2 separate regions of the Homo sapiens genome follow, and region 1 is linked to region 2. Evidence: promoter capture Hi-C in human tissues and cell types (Jung and others, 2019). All regions are on one chromosome and are shown on one strand. The core of a region is centred on a gene start or on the middle of the fragment in contact, and the rest is flanking DNA. Distances in the headings are between cores, read along the strand shown. Region 1 overlaps LOC107986777 (a long non-coding RNA gene). Region 2 holds the start of TRA2A (transformer 2 alpha homolog).

The links. Contacts are between HindIII fragments. The study calls those that stand out against the background at their distance.
Region 1: a fragment that was not itself captured here is called in contact with the fragment with the promoter of TRA2A in region 2 in 1 of the 25 tissues and cell types used here (mesenchymal stem cells).

The regions. Positions count from the first base shown.
Region 1 is chr7:24,371,570-24,375,550 of GRCh38, reverse strand. All of the region lies in intron 1 of LOC107986777 (a long non-coding RNA gene), which reads left to right. Among named protein-coding and RNA genes, the nearest start is that of NPY, 89 kb to the right of the region's middle. The HindIII fragment of the contact is 8,312 bases long and covers 1-3,981 here.
Region 2 is chr7:23,530,659-23,534,720 of GRCh38, reverse strand. TRA2A (transformer 2 alpha homolog) reads left to right here and starts at 2,740. Exons shown (of 8, transcript NM_013293.5): 1 at 2,740-2,932. The coding sequence starts at 2,897. RefSeq lists enhancers at 1,502-2,001, 2,361-2,480, 2,002-2,503, 2,651-2,870, 2,881-2,930 and 3 more. The HindIII fragment of the contact is 6,699 bases long and covers 1-4,062 here.

The DNA of each region.
Region 1 (3,981 bases), core at 1,073-3,572, 840 kb before region 2:
ATGGGGAAGCACCAGGGTGGATCAGGAGGCAGAGGGGGTTAGGGGAAGACTTGGGCAACAGGCTTTATCATGATTTCCCTGGAAAAGGAATGGGTGAGGCAGGGTAAGCAGGCTGAGGATTGACCATTTCAGCATTTCAGCAGGCTCTGGGTCACACAGGTTGTCCCCAGCCATCTGGTACCTGACCCTGGGTGATGAGAGCAGGTGGATGATGGCCCAGAAGGCGAGAGCCTGATAAAGCAGGTGGTTGGGGTGTGAGCTCTGGAATGTTTTGTTTGCATATCAAAAGTGTGCTTGCAGATAAGTTCTTTATTATCTCTAGAAATTGGCTGTCTCCGGGAAGGGCAGTTTCTCCAGGGTCAGCAAGGCCCCAGGTGTCAAAGCATCAGAAACACATTGTTAATAAACAGAGGAATGAGGTGCTGTGCATTAGGACTCAGGGCTAGTCTGGGGCAGAACTGTACTTAGAAAGAAAAATATACAGGTTTCTGGAACCTAACCACAGCATCATAGTTTCAAGCTGAAGAAGAGACCTCCAAATCATCCTACCTTCTTATATGAATGAGGAAATTGGAGCTCAGAGAGGCCATGAGGCCTGCCCAAGGTCACCAAGCATCATGACTTCTTTCTCCTCTGTCCAGTCCCTTTCTACACCATCCTGATTTGCCCACTACTTTCCAATGTTATGACCCTGGTCCTGTCTCTCCCACATCCCTCCAATTACAGGCACACGGGGGAGGATTTCTCTTTTTTATCCAGTTTCCTAGACGTGAGCAGTGATTATGTAATTGGCCCATTTTGGTTTGGGGCAGCGTCAGAGCAAAAGAAAGTGGTTTATTGGAAGAGGTCTGCATCAAACCAAGCTCTGCTTGAAAGAAAGGAGCTCTCTATTCTATTCATAAACAGACAATCCTTCTGATGAGAGAGTCTCAGTGTTCCCTTTTTGATCAATTTACCCTCAAGACCTTACATCTTTTTCATAATATGGCCTCAGGTCTGATATATTTCCTTTGGTTCTGTTACAGTAACCAGCCCCCAGTGTCTAGACATTTCTTTTTCTACGAAGGTAGGAGGGTATATTGATTTTTGCAGTTTGTAAGTTTAGTTTTCAACAGAGTTTCAGATCTGCAGTATGAACAACTTTCTCCAGTTTGAGTTGTATGGTCAGCGAGCAACTTTCTCAGTGATCCTCGACCTTGGATGCACATTAGAATTATCTAGGGACCCTTTAAAAATCCAATGCCAGGCCGGGCATGCTGGCTCATGCCTGTAATCCCAGCACTTTGGGAGGCCGTGACAGGTGGATCACCTGAGGTCAGGAGTTTGAGACCAGCCTGACCGAAAAGGTGAAACCCTGTCTCTACTAAAAATACAAAAATTAGCCGGGTGTGGTGGCAGGCTCCTGTAGTCCCAGCTGCTCAGGAGGCTGAGGCAGGAGAATTGCTTGAATCTGGGAGGCAGAAGTTGCAGTGAGCCGAGCTGAGATCGCGCCACTGCACTACAGGCCTGGGTGATAGAGCAAGACTCTGAAAAAAAAAAAAAAATCCAACGTCAGATCCCCCTCCTCGGACATTCATACTTGATTGATCTAGGGTGGGACCCAAGAAATGGGATATTTTTGCTTCTCCGGAGTGATCCTACCGTGGAACCGGAAATACAAATCACTGAGCTAGAGGGAAACTGGCCAGCAGTGACAGGAAGGTGATGCCCTGGATTCATCTGAGAGTATCCATAGGCCTGAGATACAGAAACCACTGGCCAGATGGTCTTCTCATTTCACACAGGACCCACCTGTTCCTGCCCCTCCGTCTGAACACAAAACCTGATGACACCACACTCCGCCTGAAAATCCTTCAATGCTTCTCTACTAACTGAAAATAAAGTAAAAAAATCTGCGGTGTTGGCGTTGTGGTTACTATTACTAGGTAACAAACCACTCCCAAATGTCAGCCATTTTATCATGCTCATGGATTCTGTGAGTCGGGATGCAGACAGGACACAATGAGGACGGCTTGCCTGTGCTCCACAGAGTCTGGAGTCTCTGCTGGAAACTCCCAAGCTGGGGGCGGCTTAATAGCTGGGAGCTGGAATGATCTGGAAGTGTCATCACTCACATCTGGAGTTGATGCTGGCTGTCGGCTGGGATCTCAGCTGGGGCTGTTGACCTGAGCACCCACCTGCGACCTCTCCTTGTAGCCTGGTGGCCTGAGTACCAGCACGGTGGCCTCAGGCCAGCTGGACTTCTCAGCTGGCGGTTCAGTGTTCCAAGAGTCAGAAAAGTGCTTCGTTTGACCTAGCTTCAGCAGTCACATAGCATCGCTTCCTTCTGCTGCATTTGTAAAGCAGTCATAAACCTGCTCAGATTCAAGTGGAGGGGATGTAACCCCGCCTCTAGATGGGGGAGGGTGGCAAGCTCCCATTGTAGAAGAGCATGTGGGATGGGAGATATTACTGGAGACATCTTTAGGATTTTGCTCAGCTGTAATGGCTGCATCTCATTGTCTTATTCTTCACTCCAGTCCAGCTAAAGTGTTTATAGTTCCCAGAAGACACAATTCTCTTCCATACTGCCTTTGCTTCATGTTTTTCCTTTTCTCTAGAATGTCTCTCCTGCTCAAATCCCCCTTCCTAATTCAGCTGCCTTGTAGGGCTCGGCTGGAGCAACACCTTCTCAGGGAAGGTGTTCATGGGGTGCTGGGTGCTCCTCGGTGCAGCTGTGCCTCTCTGTGTGTCTCTCAGATGGGCCTTCATCCCACTGCAGGCTGTTGGGGGATTCAGGTCTCCCTCTCCCTCACTATTCTGTAAGTTTCTTCAGGATAGAAGCTGTTTTCTTTTAATGTTCCCAACACTTAGCAGTGTTTGGCCTAAAGTGGGTGTTCAAAAAATAGTAATAAATGTAGTTCTATTATGGTCAGCACACACCTTTTAAAACTAAGATTTAAAAATTAGACTTGCCTCCTAGGCTTGCAACACTTCCGCAATATTGAAGAGCTTAGGGAATCCCATGGGAACAGGGACTCACCAGTTTCTCCTGCTTTGCACTTGTCCCTCAGCCCTAAGTGGCCATTTACATCCCTTTTGGTTTCTCATTCCCATTACAAAAAGGCCTCCCTTGAGTATTAACAATAAATTTGTTAATGTTGCCGAAGTGCTTAGAAGATGGAAAGAGCTGTATGTAAGCTAAATATTATTATTAATAATGGTATGAGATTGATTATTCATTTCCACAGAACTTCTCCTATTTGGTCTGCGCAAAAGTGGAAATTGGTTGTGTTAAATTGGCTTACCTGCTCCATTTGGCGCTGTCAGGAAAATCAGTGAGACACACATGAATATTCTTCCATGTACATAGCCATTTTCAAAGTTAGACGATCATCAATATTTATTGTAAGCAGTTATGGAAAAAAATGGATGAATATTTAACACATGGGGGCATTTAGGTATTATTAAATGTGCCTGGCCAAGCAAATTTTGAAGCTATATTTGGGCTTTAACTTACAACAGAAAATCCATATTATTAATTAGATACATGGTCATGTTTGAAAGGCTGTCGCTAGAATGGTCTTGGAATCTGAAGGCAGAGAACAACTTCTGAATGGCAAAAGCTACTCTATGCCCTTATGCCTAGCAAGGAGTTCCAGACAATTGCAGGATGGTGCCTTTAGACATTTCCTGGTCTTACTGATGAGACAACATCCTAATGTCAGATACGAGAAATTCCCAATTTAGAGACACATGTGCTTCATAGGCCCTGGATTCCCATATCACAACTGATAGCGAACTTTGCAAGAAGGGACATTGCTCACTGAAAGGTTTGAAGGAATAGGCTCTGATTCCAGAAGTATCAGAAAGATGATGGAGCAGGGGCTGTGGGAAGAGCATGGGAGTATTAACAGGAAGTAAGAAAAATGTGGGTTCTAATCCAGTGTCAGCTGTGTGGCCTTGGGAAATGACTTTTTAAAATGACTTTTTCTCTATCGA
Region 2 (4,062 bases), core at 1,491-3,990:
GAGGCCAGGAGTTAGAGACTAGCCTGGCCAACATCAAAACCCCGTCTCTACAAAAAAATACAAAAATTAGCCGAGCACAGTGGCATGCACCTGTGGTCTCAGCTACTGGGGAGGCTAAGGCAGAATAATCTCTAGAGCCCGAGAGACAGAGGTTGCAGTGAGCCAAGACTGTGCCACTGTACTCCAGCCTGGGCACGGGAGTGAAACTCTGTCTCAAAAAAAAAGGCAAAGAAAAAAGAAACTACTCTTCTAGGCCCGGCCTGGTTCCTCAACACTTTGGGAGGCCTAGGCGGCAGGATCACTTGAGCCCAGGAGTTTGAGAGCAGCCTGGGCAACATGGCAAAACCTGGTCTCTACAATAATTTAAAAATTAGCTGGGCATGGTGTTGGGGGCCTGTAGTCCCAGCTATGTGAGAGGGTGTGGTGGGAGGATCGTTGGAGCCATGATTGTGCCACTGCACTCCAGCCTGGGTGACAGAGTCAGATTATGTCTCCAAAAAATAAATAAAAGGAAAAAAGGGTAGGGGGGAAGACTCTTAGTCCATAATAGTCTACCTTTCTCCCATCCTTGATTGTGAATTTAATCTGTTGGGGAATGTGGTTATTTGTCCTGTGGAAGTTGATTACTTCATCTCGGTGTTTTTATTTTTCCCTTTCTTGTATTTCCTGTAAACTGTTGGCTAGATCTAAGGTTTAATTAGATTTGAGTTCAATTTGAGGGATCAGGAATACTTCACAGGAGGAACTGGGTATTTTCTATTGCATCACATCATGAGGTATCTCGTATCTGGTTATCTCACTTTTAATGGTACTAAGATTGATCAGTGGTTCAAATGGTATCAACCTGGCTGGGCGTGGCAGCTCACGTCTGTAATCCCAGCACTTTGGGAGGCTGAGGCGGGCAGATCATCTGAAGTCACAAGTTCCAGCCCACGCTGGCCAACATGGTGAAACCCCATCTCTACGAAAAATACAAAAATTAGCCGGGTGTGGTGGCACGCACTGTAATCCCAGCTACTCGGGAAGCTGAGCCAGGAGAATCACTTGAACCCGGAGGTGGAGGTTGCAGTGAGCCGAGATCGCGCCACTGCACTCCAGCCTGGGTGACAGAGCAAGTCTCCGTCTCAATAATAATAATAATAATTTCTTTTGTAGAGATGGGGGCTCACCATGTTGACCAGGCTGGTTTCGAACTTCTGGCCTCAAGCGATCTTCCGCCTAGGGTCTCCAAAGTACTGGGATTACAGGCGTCAGCCACCACACCCAGCCAAGTTCAACATCTTTTCTAAGAGCCAGATGTCATTTAAGTTTATCCCTATCAATAACTGACATTCAAATGCTGAAATCTTGCCCCCAGTGGTAGCAATCTTCATAATAATGCCAGATGAACTTTCCTACCATAGAACTATAGTTGAAAGTCTATGTCAATCTTTTTACTACAAAGCACTGTAGGAAAAAAATTTAAGATGAAACTAATTTTTAAAGTTGCATTACACAAGTAAAACTCATCTCAGAGATTATTACTATGATTGGGAACCAAGTTGACAGATTTGGGAGGTCTTCACTGTGAAGCTTTATGGAAATATCTAAGTCAAAAAAACTAGTAGGGAGCTAAGCATTATAAAAAAAAAACTACACGGCTGTCTCTAGGAGGGGGAACTGGAGCAGGGACACGAGGCAAGGAGCAGCGGCTTTGCATCATAACCTCATCTGTGCATGTACTACGTCGACATTACACAGGGCAAATATGGAAGAAAAGTAATACAGTCAGCTGACAACGTGCCCCCCAAAAGCCTGTTATATATACACGATTCCAGCCGGGCGCGGTGGCTCAGGCCTGTAATCTCAGCACTTTGGGAGGCCGAGGCGAGCAGATCGCTTGAGTCCACAAATTCGAGACCAGCCTGGGCAGCATGTCAAAACCCCATCTCTGCAAAACACACAAAAATTAGCCGGGTGGGCCGGGTACGGTGGTTCACCCTTGCAATCTCAGCACTTTGAGAGGCCCAGGCGGGCAAATCACCTGAGGTCAGGAGTTTGAGACCAGCCTGTCCAACATGGTGAAACCCCCGTCTCTGCTAAAAATACAAAAATTAGCCGGGCGTGGTGGTGCATGCCTGTAATCCCAGCTACTGGGGAGGCTGAGGCAGGAGAATTGCTTGAACCTGCGAGGTGGAGGTTGCAATGAACCTAGATAGCGCCACTGCACTTCAGCCTGGGCAACAGAGTGAGACTCCGTCCCAAAAAAGAAAAAAATTAGCCGGGCGTGGTGGCGCGCGCGGGAGCCTGAGGTGGGAGGATCGTCTGAGCCCGGGAGTTTGAGGCTGTGGTGAGCAGTGATCGCTTCACTGCACTTCAGCTTGGGTGACAGAGCGAGACCCTGACTCAAAAAATAAACAAACATAAAAAAACGCTTCCAATGTTTTGTTCCCTTACATCAGAATCCACTTGGACAATATTTAAAGGGGCTAAGGTCATATAAGGCTCATCTGGCGACTGAAAAGTCTTCAAAGAGGTTGACGCGTCCGAGGTGAGTCTGAAGTTTGGAGGACAGCACGGGACCGCGATTCCAAGGCGCCCAGGTTGAGAGCGCAGGCCGCCCGCCAACCTCCACCCTCGCTCCAGGCCCAGCCGACACAAAGCCTCGCGGGAGGTGGAGCCTCGTGACGTCACAGAGACGCCCGCCCCCTTTACGTCGTGCTCTGAGGAGGCCAGGAGATTTCTGGCGGCGCCGGCGCCATTTTGCTGGAGCCTGCGACCGAGTGGGAGTGGAGTGGAGCGGCTGTGGTTGCCGACTCTTTCCTCTTCCCCACGGTCCAGTCAGCGGGTTAATTAGGCCATCGGCCCTCGAGCCGAGACTTGTCTCTTATTTAGTTCTGGGGAGCGCCTCGTCGACATGAGTGATGTGGAGGAAAACAACTTCGAGGGCAGAGTGAGTACAAAGCCGCGGGAGCCGTCTAGGCGGCGGCCCAATGCTCGGGGTTTCACGGGAACAAGCGCGGTCGGGCGGGGTTGCGGGTAGTCCCGCGAGGAGCAACCTCTGGAGCCATCGCGATTGATTCCTCCCATCCCAAGATGGCTTCTGGGTTCCACTCCTTCCCCAAACACCACGGATAACACCCCTCCCCCTTTTTTGGAGGCTGACTGATACCTGGACTTCTGGGTCCTCTTCCCTCCCCGCCCCCGCATTGCTTCCTCCCTTCTCCCCACCCCTGAGGCTTCCTTATGTCTGCTCCGAGGTGTGGGTCCCCGTCGCGGTTGGGCGGGAGGAGGCGGCAGGGAGCTCCCCTCCGTCCGGATAGTGGTAGGTGCTTCCTGCGGTGGCATTTCTGGCGACCCCGAGCATCGTAGAGGGTCTCGGGATCGAAAGTGCGCGGGGCTGCTTTCCGGGCGGGGAGAAGCTGGCGTGGGACTAGCTGGGGCCTGTGTCTCCTTGGCTCTCTATTTCAGTGAGCGGCCGCGTCTCTGTTGGAACCGGCGGCGTTGCGTCTAAAAAGGCGAAAGCCTTGAGGTTGAAGGTGGGACGAGCCTAATGAAGTGGTTAGTCAACGACCGCACCGACCCTTAAGCGTTCTTAAGACGAGAGCTGTGAGGGGAAACTACGCAAGGAGCCCTTTTCCCTTAATGTCCCTTCGACTTTCCTTTCACTTCGAAATGAATGTGGAAATGCTGTCACGCCTTATTTTTCTAATTCCTCGATGTTGGGTTTTTTCTCTTCTTTATATCTCAACTTTTAATGCTCTTCTTCCTATGACCTTTCATCTAAAAACTGACCACTCCTTTACAGGTTTTTACGGTAAAAAAAAAAAAATCTGTCTTTCTTTAATCTTACATAGCTGAACGAATTCATTGGCTCAGTATTTTTAAGATAACTAGTCAGTATATACTGTTCTGTAACTTAAAAGATGACCTGAAAATTAACAGGCCCTCTCCCATTTCTCTTCTCACTCTATCCCCCACCGAAGAGGGCTCAGAAAAAAGTTTTTATTAATATATTTGGGGTCGGAGAAATACAAACATCACAAAGAATACGATATCCCCAGCTTAAATGTACTGGAACGT